Regions from separate parts of the Homo sapiens genome. Here regions 2 and 3 are each linked to region 1. Evidence: promoter capture Hi-C in 16 types of primary human blood cells and fetal thymus (Javierre and others, 2016). All regions are on one chromosome and are shown on one strand. The core of a region is centred on a gene start or on the middle of the fragment in contact, and the rest is flanking DNA. Distances in the headings are between cores, read along the strand shown. Region 1 holds the start of POLQ (DNA polymerase theta). Region 2 overlaps CASR (calcium sensing receptor). Region 3 overlaps CD86 (CD86 molecule).

The links. The method cuts DNA at HindIII sites, captures the fragments that hold promoters and counts their contacts. A CHiCAGO score of 5 or more calls a contact.
Region 2: a fragment that was not itself captured here is called in contact with the fragment with the promoter of POLQ in region 1 in 2 of 17 cell types (total B cells and neutrophils); the score reaches 5.8 in total B cells.
Region 3: a fragment that was not itself captured here is called in contact with the fragment with the promoter of POLQ in region 1 in 1 of 17 cell types (naive CD8 T cells); the score reaches 5.0 in naive CD8 T cells.

The regions. Positions count from the first base shown.
Region 1 is chr3:121,543,393-121,548,163 of GRCh38, reverse strand. It overlaps POLQ (DNA polymerase theta), which reads left to right and starts at 2,176. Exons shown (of 30, transcript NM_199420.4): 1 at 2,176-2,449; 2 at 3,258-3,437. The coding sequence starts at 2,287. RefSeq lists enhancers at 2,028-2,322, 2,214-2,443. The HindIII fragment of the contact is 11,524 bases long and covers 1-4,771 here.
Region 2 is chr3:122,234,080-122,238,850 of GRCh38, reverse strand. The region is part of intron 1 of CASR (calcium sensing receptor); the gene reads right to left. Among named protein-coding and RNA genes, the nearest start is that of CASR, 53 kb to the right of the region's middle. The HindIII fragment of the contact is 3,458 bases long and covers 1,177-4,634 here.
Region 3 is chr3:122,100,468-122,105,238 of GRCh38, reverse strand. CD86 (CD86 molecule) reads right to left here. Exons shown (of 7, transcript NM_175862.5): 3 at 1,392-1,727. Among named protein-coding and RNA genes, the nearest start is that of CD86, 47 kb to the right of the region's middle. RefSeq lists a silencer at 878-947 and an enhancer at 3,990-4,179. The HindIII fragment of the contact is 469 bases long and covers 1,706-2,174 here.

The DNA.
Region 1 (4,771 bases), core at 927-3,426:
GGCTTTTGGTAGGATGACATAAAACTTTCAATTCCTTTCTAATTATTTTTCTGATTTGATCATAGTTCACCTAATAATAAAAACAGAATAGCTTTGTAAGAGATTTTTCTAGTTTAGCCTTTTCCCAGCAAAATGCTGAATTTAAATTGGGGGCTATATTAGAACATCTAAATATTTTCTCTGAATAGTATTTATTATGTGCCGGCACTATTCTAAGTACTTTACACATATTGACTTACTCAGTCCTCAAAATAACCAAATAGGTTGTTACAATTATTATCTCTATCATACAGATGAGGACATGGAGGCACAAAAGGGTTACGCTGTAATCCCAGCACTTTGGGAGGCGGAGGTGGACGGGTCATTTGAGGTCAGGAGTTCGAGACCAGCTTGACCAACATGGTGAAACCCTGTCTGTACTAAAAATACAAAAATTAGCCAGGTGTGGTGGTGCAGGCCTGTAATCCCAGCTACTTGGGAGGCTGAGGCAGGAGAAACGCTTGAACCTGGGAGGCAGAGGTTGCAGTCAGCAGAGATCAAGCCACTGCACTCCAGCCTGGGCGACAGAGTGGGACACTCCGTCTCAAAACAAACAAACAAACAAAAAATGGGTTAAGCAAGTTGCCCAAGATCTCACAGCTACTAAGTTTCAAACCTAGACTGACTGACTCCAGAGTTGCACTGTTAACCCTTAAGTTACACTGCATCTGAGAAAGTTCTTTCTTGGCTGCAATCTAGGGGTCTCTCTCTCTTTTTTTTTTTTTTCTTTTTTTGAGACGGAGTCTTTCTTTGTCGCACAGGTTGGAGTGCAGTGGTGCGATCTCGGCTCACTACAACCACCGCCTCCCAGGTTCAAGCAATTCTCCCGCCTCAGCCTCCAGAGTAGCTGGGATTACAGGCACCCGCCATCATACCCGGCTAATTTTTTGTATTTTTGTAGAGACGGGGTTTCACCATGTTGGCCAGGCTGGTCTAGAGCTCCTGACCTCAGGTGATGCACTCATCTCGGCCTCCCAAAGTGCTGGGATTACAGGCGTGAGCCACCACGGCCGGCGAGATCTCTTTTATTTCTTTAATAGTACTCTTCATTTCTGCCCAAGCATATGGCACACTTCATTAACTGACTTGTTTAATGTCTGCCTTATTCTCTAGACTCTTTCTCTTTGAGAGCAGGAACCATTTTATGCCATTTCACTGCCATTTACCCAGTGGCTAGCTTACAGTAGATACTCAGTAAATAGTTGTTGATTGCGTAAAAGGCCAAGAGAAAAATGTTTCATTCACGGAGTAATGTCGCCATCTCGTGGAACTTTAGAATATTGTCATTTAAATCAAAAAAATGTTTTCACGGAAGGAATTGATGGTTCGAATGCTATTTTCCAGATTGTATTCGAGTGTTTTTTTTTTTTTTAATTGGACTGGACCTTTTGAGATTTTTAGTGCTCTAGAACTGCACAGCCTCTTCAGGTCAGGCTTAGGGCCTACTAGTTTTGCTTGGTGAAATGAATTATGCAACTAGGTAATGAATGGTCACCGTTTTACGTTCAGAACTCGTTCGCTTCTACCTTTACAAAAGGGACAACACAGATGCATTACTAAGCTCTTGGCTCATAACGATCCCTGGGGTATATTCAGAGCCCCTTCCTCGCGGCGTTCATATAGTGTCTCAGGGGTCTGTCAGCCAGCAATCCCCAATTCCTCATTACATATTCCTCACAATGCATGCTGGCTAAAATGGAAATTGTGTTCAGAAATAGCCCTGCCCTACCATCATATACTAGGAGAAAGGAGGAAATTATGCTCTATTAGAAACCCTAGGCTATCTTGCATAATGCTTCTCAATCTGAAATAATTTTTTACAGAATACCAATACGTTAAGAAGAGCTACTTCCCTGATCTACCTATTATGGGCAGCCCATTTTATGAAGTTAGCATGGCCTTCCTATTCAAACCAGAAATGGACAAAAGGAGAAGGAAGGCTTTTAGGTCAGTATGGTTATAACTGTAGATTCTGTATTCTTCCTCTTTAATCTATCTCTCATATTAACCAACCAGGAGGTTGGAGGCCGGAAGTCTTAGACGCCAGCGAGAGCCGCTCCTTCCCCACGAGTCTATGGCTTTCGGGTTACTTAAGCCACGGAGAACTCTATGGTTCCGGGGCGGGCCGGGAGGTTTGAGTTTGAAGACTGGCGGGAAGATGTCCGCAGCTGTTGCCAGGCCAGGGTTCTCCCGAGAGGGAGGACGCTGGGACTGTGGCTTGCCCTGATCGGCCGAGAAGAGTTTGCCATGAATCTTCTGCGTCGGAGTGGGAAACGGCGGCGTTCAGAATCAGGCTCAGATTCGTTCTCGGGAAGCGGCGGTGACAGCAGTGCCAGCCCCCAGTTCCTCTCCGGGTCCGTGCTGAGCCCGCCGCCCGGCCTTGGTCGCTGCCTGAAGGCCGCAGCTGCAGGTGCTCCAGGAACCCGGGAGGCCGCGGGCAACGGGGGCAGCTCCGCCGGGCCATGGGTCGGGAGGTGTCCTCACCCCACGGGACTTGCTTCGTTGCATACCCCATTGGGCTTCTACTCCCCTTCTCTGTGACTGGGGCCTGGTGTGGCAGGTCACTTTCTGTTCAGACATACGCGTGTTTTCAGTGATCGCCTGGTATTAATGTTCACGTGGCTTCTGGATCTTTCGACCTTTAGAGAAACAACTTCCTAGTTAGCTTCATCCCATCATCTGTTGGGCGGCTCGTTCCTGGTAGTACCCAGTACTCCTTACAGACCCTTAAGACAGGATTGTTGGGCCTGGAGTACGGCACAGGCTGTTCGGCGTCCAGGGGAAGGCTGGAAGGGATTCGTAATGAGATTGGTTGGGTGTCCCGTGGATGTCGACCCAGTTTTTTAAAATCGTTAGTTGTGCAGTCGTCATGGAACTAAAACTTACTATAAATAGAAACTCACCTAACTTAGCTTTGTAATGCTTGCATATTGCCCTCCTCCCCCAACTACACCCGTAATTCCAACACTCTTTATCTACTGTGTATTGCACGCTTTTTTGTTCGTTTGAGGCTTTTAAGGAATTTTTATTATATGCAGTAAATAACAATTTATTACTTTTCTATACATGGTCAATTTCTCATAAGATTCTTGAAGTCAGGATGTGCTTTAAAGAGCTTCATTTCAACACATAGGAATTCCAACACACGGTGAAGGGCTAACTGTAAAACTCATATATTAGAAGTAAATTAAATTTTAATTTTTTCTTTTTCCTAAAAGGAGAATGCAAGCCTACAGTTCCTGACTACGAAAGAGACAAGCTACTATTGGCAAACTGGGGACTTCCTAAAGCAGTTCTGGAAAAATACCACAGTTTTGGTGTAAAAAAGATGTTTGAATGGCAGGCAGAGTGCCTTTTGCTTGGACAAGTCCTGGAAGGAAAGAATTTAGTTTATTCAGGTATCCAAATTTATGTAAACTAATTACTATTTTTAAGATATGAATGTAAAGAATACTCTATTGAGGTAGTTGTGGTTCGTTTAAAAGGTGAATGAGGCAGTGCTTTATAACTAGAGAAAATCGTACAATATGTGTGAAAAGTGGAGTTTTATTTATATTTAAATTACAAAAGTTTTATTGTTTGACTGGGGTGGAGGGAAGCAAGAAAAATGACAATTTAAAGAGTGGGCAATTCTGCCTGCCATTATTCTCAACAAACATATATCCCAGTGAGTGTGCAATGGGAGATGTAAATCTGCCCTTCCCCTGTTTGATCCTGGTTGCTTTTCAGGGTATGAGCATTATCATTACATGTTTGTTAATTTACCTTTTTTTTTTCTTGAGATAGAGTTTGTCTCCAGGCTGGAGTGCAGTGGCGCTATGTGGGCTTACTGCAACTTCCACCTCCCAGGTTCAAGTGATTCTCCTGCCTCAGCCTCCCAAGTAGCTGGAATTACAGGTGTGCGCCACCAGGCCCAGCTACTTTTTTGTATTTTTAGTAGAGATGGGATTTCACTGTGTTGGCCAGACTGGTCTTGAGCTTCTGACAAGTGATCTGCCTACCTTAGCCTCCCAAAGTGCTGGGATTATAGGTGTGAGTCACCGTGCCCAGCTATAGATTGACCTGTTTGTACAGGGTTGTATATACAAACAACAAGTAATATACTTTATATAAAATTTTTATGGGTTTTCTTTTTTTTTTTTGAGATGGAGTCTTGCTCTGTCGCCCAGACTGGAGTGCAATGGAGTTGTCTCGGCTCACGGCACCCTCTGCCTCCCGGGTTCAAGTGATTCACCTGCCTCAGCCTCCTGAGTACCTAGGATTACAGATGCCCGCTGCCATGCCTAGCTAATTTTTGTATTTTTAGTAGAGACGGGGTTTCACATCTTGGTCAGGCTGGTCTCGAACTCCTGACCTCAGGTGATCCACGCACCTCAGCCTCCCAAAGTCCTGGGATTACAGGCATGAGCCACCATGCCCGGCCCTATATGGGTTTTCATGGGCAACTATGGCATACACAATTTTTAACGCATGCTTACTACACTGACTTTAAATCTAATCATTTGGTAAGATGCAATTCCTTTGTGTCAGTTTTCTCCGAAATTATGAGTCACACAGATTTTTCATTATGGCTGTAAGGACGAATTAAATAATTATCAGCAGATATAAGTTCAGGCAGTGGAATTAGACTGGTTGGATTTGAAAACTATCACTTACTGGCTATGCAGCCTCACAGATTACTTAGGAAGAGTGAGAGAGTGTATATGTGTTTGTGAGTATGTGTGCCTCGGTA
Region 2 (4,771 bases), core at 1,656-4,155, 690 kb before region 1:
TTCAAGGCAGTGAGTTCCCTTCTGGCCCAGGGCATGTCTAGAAATGTTGTCAAGGAACTAGGGCCTGGAATGGAGGCCTTATGACTCTGCCTGGTGCTCTATCCTACCTTGGCTGAGCTGGTATCCAAGGTGCAAGACAAAGTCTTCTTTACTCTTTGCTCTTCTCTCCTTAAGCAGAAGGAAGGAGTCACTTTAGTTGCTGTGAGCTGTGTTACCTGGGGTTGGGAGATGGGTAGAACAAGCACTCCCTTAGCCACCCTGGCTGGTGTCTCCCTAGGTCACCTGCTGCTCTAGTCCACTGGCTCTAGTGTTAAGCCTAGCCCAGCACTAGGAATTGCTTAGTTAGGAATTACAGTCCTTTTGTCCTAGACTGCTTTTCAAGCTTATGTAAGACCCCAGAGCACTTTAACACGTGGTGGTGAGGCTTGCAGAAACTCAAGTTCCGACTGCTTAGGTGGGTGATTCCCCTCTTGCTAGGGCTGGTCCAAATGCTCCCTCCTCCTCAGCGAATGCCAGCTGAGCCCAGCACAGCTTTTCTCTCTGCTGTGACAGGTCAGCACTGAGTTCAGTGCCAAGTGGCCCAGTCGCTGTGCTCTCCTTCCCCAAAATGCACAGATTTTCTCTTGCACCACACGGCCACTGCTGGGGGGATAGGGGAGGGGTGGTATCAGCGATTCAAGGCTGTCTTTCCTACCCTCCTCAGTGCCTCTTTGAGCAATATGAAATTAGCACCGGGTGCTGTGACTGTTCACCTGATTTTTACTTCTTTTGATGGTGCTTTTTTGTGTAGTTAGTTGTTAAAATGTGGTGTTCCTGCAGGGGGGAGCCATCAGTGGAGGCTTCTGTTCAGATATCTTGCTCCACCCTCAGCTATAAGCTTTCTTAAACATGCCTTTTTGTGAATGTATGTTGAATATATACCTAGAAGTGGAGTTGCTACATCATAGAATTTGTGTATCTTTAGTTTTAGTAGATACTACCAAAAAGTTTTCCAAAGTGTTGTACCAATTTATCTTCCCACTGCACTCTATGAGAGTTCTATCACTCCATGTCCTTGTCCACCCTTGGTACTGCCAGTCTTTTTCATTGTGGTCATTGCTTGTCTTCCTTTTATATGATTATATTGTATCTACCTATGTTCCCAAAATGTATTTAAAATTTTAGTTGTTTTAAGCTTCATAAAAGGGTATCATACTATATGTAATCTTCTGAGTTTCTTTCACTTAATATCGTATTAATAAAATTCATCTATATTGTTGTACTTTACTATAATCCATGATTTTAACTGCGGTATAATATTCCACTGCGTGAATATGTCACAATTTATTCATTCATTTTCCCATTGGTGGGCATTTGGACTTTTTCAATAGTATGGCAATTCTTTCAATTGGCTTTGAGATTGTGCAGGAACCAAGGAAGAGCTCTGTGGAATTTTAAAGACACTTCGGCCAGGTGTGGTGGCTCATGCCTATAATCCCAAGGTGGGAGGCTGAGGTGGGTGGATCATGAGGTCAGGAGATTGAGACTATCCTGGCCAACATGATGAAACTCCATGTCTACTAAAAATACAAAAATTAGTCGGGCGTGGTGGTGCACTCCTGTAATCCCAGCTACTTGGGAGGCTGAGGCAGAAGAATCGCTTGAACCCGGGTGGTGGAGGTTGCAGTGAGCCAAGATCACACCACTGCACTCCAGCTTGGTGACAGAGCAAGACTCTGTCAAAAAAAAAAAAAAAAAAGCATAAGTACTGTTAGCTACAATTAGCATCTCTACAAATTTCCAGGCCCAAAATAACAAGCCTCCAGTGTTTCATTACCCCATTTTAAAGAAGATTTTACCTCACAGTTAACTAAAATCACATCTATTTTAAAATTAAGGCCATTTATTCTTGCCTAATTTACCACTGCAATGAAAGGCCAGAGACAAAAATTTTCATTAATTTAAAGATAGAATCACCTTCACTTTTTTTTCAGGCTTAACTATCCAAATTTCTTTCAAACCTTTCTGCTTAGGACTACTTCATATTTTTCTAGATATATTTGTTAATATGCCAAGAACCTATTCTAAGTTCTTCATGTCATTTTTTAGAGCATGTTAACAGAAATTGGTACCATGATTTGGGGCTGACCTGAGGTTAAAAGAATTTGCGTCCCACTGGAGATTTCAAGATGTGTTTGTTAGCTTTTGTCCATAACTCCACAATTTGGCTGACTCATGTCCATATTCTGGCCTTCTAGGGCCTCCTTGATTTCCTAATATACATTTGCTTGAGTAGTCCCTTCAGAACCTATATCTGTTTTTTTAATCCCCAAATATCTCAGATTGAAAATGTTCAAACTGAATTTTATTTTTGAAGAACTATGCCTCCCCACTAAATTCATTATGAATTTTGTTCCCATTTTTGAAGGAACATGTCTCCCTGTCAGGAAATGTCAGGAAATATGTGTTGATTTATTAGCTGGCCCCTTCAGCTTTGCCCGGAAGAATCATGAACCAGCATTTAAAGAATGAATTTTGGAACATGCTACATTCAGTTGCCTCTATGAGAAGATTCTCCATTGCTAAGGACACCTGAAGCTGTTCTGGAGGAAGACTGTCTGGAATAAACTTTCCCCAAATAAGCCCATGGATGTTTCTAACCCTGACTTTGATGCTGGGTCAGCCAATATATCCTCACACATGGTGGAAACCCATTCAATTGATTTCTTTTAATGTGGTAACCCTCAGAAAGAAACTTCTTGTTACTGTAAAAAGAGCCTCCTATCTGTTGGGCATGGGGCCGGGTGCAGGGAAGTGAGTCTTAAATTGTGGTCCTTGGACGAGCATCAGCACCATCACTTGGGAACTTGTTAGAAACACGAATCCCATCCCAACCTACTGAATCAGAAACTCTGGGTGTGGGACCAGCAACCTGTGTTTTAAGAAGTTTGAAAGCCATTGCTAGACCGTCTTTCATATGCATCTGTCCAGGGTCATATTCTGTTCTGAGCTCTAAAAATTGTGTTTCCTAAAAATGATTGTTTAAATGTAATTTTATTTATGTATTATCATTTTTAGAGACATGGTCTCACTATGTTGCCCAGGTTGGAGTGCAGTGCCATGATCATAGCTCACCGCAGTCTAGAACTCCTGGGCTCGTGATCCTCCTGCCTCAGATTCCTGAGTAACTAAAACTATAGGAACATGCCACTACCCCAGGCTATTTTTTAAAAAATTTTGTAGAGACAGGACCTTGCTGTATTGCCCAGGATTCTTCTGATACTATTACTTTTCTCCAAGGATAACACAGCCAAACAAAAATGTATTTTGAATGGATACACAACAGTTTCCTGTCAATGTCAATTCATTCTTCGGTTTCCCTGAAACCTTTCTCCTGCAAAATAACTGCTAACATCTTATGAAACCAGTATTCCAGGAAAGCACAGTTCAGAAGTCATTGCTGTAAAGTTAGGGTAACTTTCTGAATCTATAATCAATATGCATGGTCTGTGAACTAGAGAAAATGGCCACTAACCATAGATAGACTACTTCTCACCCTCTCTTCCCAGCCACATGCAGGGGATTTACCTATGTGGTTATCATTTGCGTCTACCTTTCCGAGCAGAGTCTTGGGTGCTCTACTTTACACTTAAGTCTTTCATTATTAATTCCCTTTTTAAATTTGTGGAATGAGTATATATTCTTCACAATCAATCCATCAGTCCCAGATGGGAAGGTCTGGGACCCTGTTTACCTGCAACTGTTAGAAGTCACAGCACCTGTGACTGTTAGAAGTGTCCAGCACTCCCTGGTCCTTCTCTACTCTCCTGCGAGCCCTTTCTATGAGCTCTTCAGGGGCTCTTTCTTTGGGAACTGAAATGGTCCTAAACATTCCACAATCTGTGCTGATGCAGTGCACTCTCAGTGTCTCTCTGCCTTCTTCGGCTTTGCCCAGAAGAATCAGGAACCAGCATTTAAAAAATAAATCCTGGAACATACTACATTCAGTTGTCTCTATGAGAAGATTCTCTGTTGCTAATGACACCCGAAGCTGGTCCGGAGGAACACTGTCTCAGATAAACTTTCCCCAAAGAAGCCCACACATGTTTCTATAAACCTGACTTTGAAGTTGGATTAGTCCACATAGCCTGAGCCTCAGTGAGTGACTCCTGTCCAGCTGGTCAGGGTAAGAGATGACTAGGGTCAGCCTGCTATACAGAGGCCTTACAAATAACTCTTTCCACTCTGATTCTTCCATTACTTATTTGAAATAACTAAATTCCATTTGAAATAAATAAAATTCCATCCTCTCATGTTTGCTTTCTTCTTTCTTCTCTCCCTCTTTTTCCTCCATCCTCCAGCAGTTTCCAAACTGATTTTAAACCTCTCAATCTGTCTAATGAGAAGTAAGCTCTTTAGAAAGTAATGGGCAAAGGTTATTATTCCTCTTCTTATTCAGCTGTGCCCACGTGTTGGTTACATTACACCAGGGGCCAGCCAACTACATTCCATGGGCCAAATCTGGTGTGCTTGTTTTTATAAATAAAGTTTTGCTGAAATACAGTCATGCCTAATCACTTGCATTATATCTATGGTTGCTTTTGTGCTGCAAGGGTAGATTTGAGTAGTTATGCCAAAGATTGGCCCACAAAGCTTGGAATAGTTAATATTTGGCCTTTTACTGAAAAAGTTGATTGACCTCTTCATGAAACTAAGCACAAAGAAAACCCTACTTTTGCCATGAACTGGACATTTCCATGACTTTGGAAACAGTTATGCGCCTGATGTGAGC
Region 3 (4,771 bases), core at 691-3,190, 560 kb before region 1:
TAGAGTTTTTCTAATATACATTAAAACAAATACAACATGGCTTTTCAAAATGCTTATCTGTGTCCCACCTAAAACATTTCCAATGGTACCTGACCACATTTTGAAAACACGGATTTAGCACTTGGTTAACTATTCCTAAAGCCCTGCAGCCTAGTTTAAATCACACAGGGTTCAAAGGGAGCAGCTCTCCATTCTATTTTTACTTTTGCTTCTGTTTTACTCTATGGTTTTAGAATAGGTGTTGATCTGCCTTTTCAAGTTTCATCAAAAATTAACCTGGATCCAGTAATACCACACCTGGGTATTTCCTCTAGAGAACTGAGAACTTATGTTCACACAAAAACCTGTACATGAACGTTTACAGCAGCCTTATTCATAAGAGCCCCAAACCAGAAACAACCCAATGTCTTTTACTGAGTTGAATGGATAAACAATAAAATGCTACTCAGCAATAAAAAGGGACAAGCTCGATATGTGCAACAACTTGGGTGAATCTCGAAGGCGCGCTAAACGAAAGAAGCCAGGCTTAAAAGGTTACATACTGTGTGGCTTCACTTATGTGACACTGTCAAAAAGACAAAACTATAGGATGCCCAACAAGGGTTATGAGTGCAGACAGGGTATGACTCTATGAAGGGACAGCCTGAGGGAAATTTTTAGGGTGATAGAAATGCTCTATGTCCTGTGGCGGTTACCTAAATCTATACAAGATCTATACAATCAGTAGAACAGTATATCAAAACAAAAAAAAATAATTTTACTGTGTGATAGTTTTAAAAAAATCTGTAGTGGCATTTAGGCCTTCCAAGGTCTCGTGAAGCAGAGGAGCTGGTTTGTAAGTTTGTGGGTTATGTTTGTTGGGTTTTTTTCCCTTCTGTCTACCAGGCTCATGGTTGTGGCAGCAAACAACTCATAAGCAACCTAGAGGAGGCTGAAGGGAAAACCCAAATGTGTCAGCTGTCCGCTTTGCTAGGAGCTCCAGGCAAAGATTTAGTAGGTGAAAAATCTTGGACCCAAGGAAAAAATGAATGTAAGACATCTGAGGCCTTTATGGTTATATAAACTTTGTGATGGCCAAATTATCCATGGTTTTTACTATAGGTAATTAGCCATATTATCTTTGTTCAATTAGCTCTATTTTTTCCCCAAAGCAGATTTTTACTGATCCTTCAGAAGCAGACTATAAAAAGTACAAAAGACTTTCAGTTCCCTACTCCCAGACTCTACACTCCCTTCAAATGCACTTCCCAGAAGTGGCTGTCCTCTGCCTTCTCTCTATAGACCCCCCTTTTCCCCTGGGCCCCTCAAGTCCCCCTCCAGTGTTTTTCTAACTCATTTGCAGTCTCATCTGAGAAGGCTAAGAATCTGAACACACACCATTGACCACATACCAAGCACTGACAGTTCAGAATTCATCTGGTGGATGCGAATCATTCCTGTGGGCTTTTTGTGATGGATGATACATTGATACAAGCCCTTGTCCTTGATCTGAAGATTGTGAAGTCTCAGGGTCCAACTGTCCGAATCAAAACTTGTGCGGCCCATATACTTGGAATGAACACTGTCAAATTTCTCTTTGCCTAAGTATACCTCATTCAGAACCAAGTTTTCCTGGTCCTGCCAAAATACTACTAGCTCACTCAGGCTTTGGTTTTGAGAGTTTGCAAATTGGCATGGCAGGTCTGCAGTCTCATTGAAATAAGCTTGAATCTTCAGAGGAGCAGCACCTAAAAAAGAAGGTTAAGGATTAGGGAGGGAGAAACAAGAGGAAAGGGGAAAAAACCTCCATTTCTCTTTATACAATACCCAGATACTATCTTATCAGTAATCATGCTGAAGAATAAGATATTAAGCTCTGGAACTGTGCACATCTGCTTGGCATCTGGAGATTAGGACCTTTGTCCTTGCTTCACCGCTGACTAAATGTGTGGCCTTGTACAAACTGCAATCTTTATGAGCCTCAGTTTCCTCATCTGATTAATGAAGTGGTTGACTAAATGTTCCAAGGGTCTTTCTAGTACTGTGGTTCTGTGAATTTAAATTGCAAGACAGGGAAAAACCAGTAGAGTTAGACAACCCATTCACCCACCAGTTACCTTCCTATAACCTTAATTTTAGTTTTCATCACTGTAGCTGTTACAGGTTCCATAACTTCTACACCATCACCAAAAGCTTTCCCCTCCCCTCCCATCCACATATTCCTTGGTCTGCTATGGTGAAAAGATTGCTGATAATGGTAATAAATTATAGCCCCCCTTTATTATACTTCATTAGTTGGGGAATCACGTTGAGTAACATCTTTGAAATTCAAATAGCTCCCTTTACAGAACTTCCCCTATGACTGCTGCTCCCATGGCCAGCACTTCCAAGGATGTCAAATGCTTTAGAAATGACTTCGATAGTGAACCAAGGCCTTTATTTTCAGTGACCTCTCTAAGCTCTTTCAGAGATCAGAAAGAGAACTGGGCAAATTTGATGGCTGTTTTCGGATTGTGGTGGTCAATGACCATTTAAGGCACATGAGTGAAATGCTGAAAATGAATCATAGATGGGCAGGTGAGGATGTGCTTTGGGAGTATTGGGGAAACCCCAGGCACCACAAACTTGCTGCTCCCAGTATGCACTGACCCTGGACAATTTTACAACCATAGACATCATGCTGGAAGGGTTGAGAGAAAGGCTTTAGTCCTTGAGGACACTTTGGGGTTTGTGGGAAGGATGTGGGCCACCCAACTACTTAAATGTGAATGATCACGGGGTTTGTGTAGGACCTTTTCTAGGTTACAGAATTACTTGAGACTTGGCAAAAAAAAAAAAAAAAAAAAAAAAAAAGTAAGCAGTGGTGGGTGAGAAGTGCGGGGGTGGAGAGTGGGAAGGCTGTTTCTTACTTAATATGAAGTTAGATGCCACCTTGGAGAGGAAGTTAGTGTAAGTTCTAAATAAAATTTCATCATTCAGGATTTATGTGAAGGCATGTTGACATTGAGGAGGAAAGGGAGGAGATGGGTTGATGAGAGAGATGAGAGGAGCTTCATTTGAAGAGTTCTAAGTGGGGGAGTAATTAAATTGATGTGGTTTCTCTTGAAAGAGGGAATAGAAGGACAGATAACAGTGACATGCACTTGTCAAACTAAACTGTGTACAGAGTGGCCCAGTGAGAACACATAATCAAGGGGTTGGTGGTGGTCTTGAACTCTTAGGGAAGCAGACAGCAGGCATCAGTGGGAGTTTGCACAAATATGAATCACTGCCTATTTCACTACACTCACTAGGACCCTGTGAAGTACTTGAGGTATAAAATGCACCACCTGTAGAGGATGCGTACCGGTATTGGAGGGAGGAAGGAAAATCTATATGCGTACCCTGACAGTGAAAGGGAGACCTAAGGAAGATTTAGTGTGTTTATGAATCACCTTACAAGGCAAACCTGAGGCTTCTGCATCTTCTTTGCTGAGCTCTTAATGTAATGCAAGAGTGCCCCCTACTGTAAAAGCTTCTAGCATTGTCTCTGAGGAAATACTGGTTTTAGTCTAAATTGTCATGTAATATAGGACAGATGACCTGATGGAGAAACCAAACACACAGTTAAAAATTCTGCCAATTAACAGTCAATGTTATGTTATTACTCAGCTGTCAGTTGTGCCTTCTGGACCTGGAAATGACTTCGTCTTTAGCTGCTTCTGTCTTCTTGATTTACATATATATATATATATATATATATATATTTTTTTTTTTTTTTTTTTCTGTAGAGCCTCACAGTATCTTCTTTCCTTCCCATCCATTCTGTCCACTCACAGACCAGTCTAACTCCGCTGACCCAGGCCCCTTCTCCCAAAGATTACAACGGCTTTCTCTTCCACTCATCGAGTGCTCCCTTCTTCACCTAGCAACTGAAAGTGTGATGTATGGACCAATGAGATTCACGTCACATGTGGGCTGGTCTGAAACACGGAATCTCTGGCCCCACCCAAGACTTACTGATTCAGAACCTCCATTTTAACAAGAGCTATAGTTTGAGCAGCTGTTGTAGAGAATCTCTGCCTCTGTCTCCAGAGTGGATCACAGAAAATGACATGAAAATTTTTTTTCCATCCATCCCTCCTCAGACTCCCTCTCCTCCCCATGGGGTGGAAATCACTTTGAAATCCATTCTGAGTGGAACTGAAAGTATTTTGCAATTTATACTCCATAGCACCTCACCAACCACTGGCTTCCATGATCTCACACAGAGCCAGGCATGGGGGATGCTGCTAATCCTTTCTCTGACTAAATGGGGAAAGTTTGGCTCAAGGTCTGTGATCACCAAATGACTTCAGGCCTTCCATTTTATGACCCCAGACCTCAAGCCACCTAGCAACTGGACTTACTGGGATTCCATAGGTGGGTAAGCATTGAGAATCTCTCCCTTCCCCAGCACTTGGGTAAGAGGAATGGTCGAAGTCTAGTTACAATGGGTTGCTATGATGTCAGGAACAAGTCGCTCAAGAATCCAGCTAGATGCCTTCGTAATCAGCTGAAGGAATTTGTTTCAAAGGATAATTAAGGACTTCCTGAGCAATACACTCTACTGTTGGAATGCCACTCAAAAACTGTAATTTGCTAGCCTTATGAAGTCTCTGACCCCACTGGGACTTCAGTGTTCCCTGGCTGCTATCCCCAAATGCATATCTTATATGTTTAAGAATTATCTCTTCTTTATGTTCCTATGCTTATCTGTACTAAAAAAAATTCCTTCTTTTACTAAACTTCCTCCAAAGTTTTACTTGGCCCT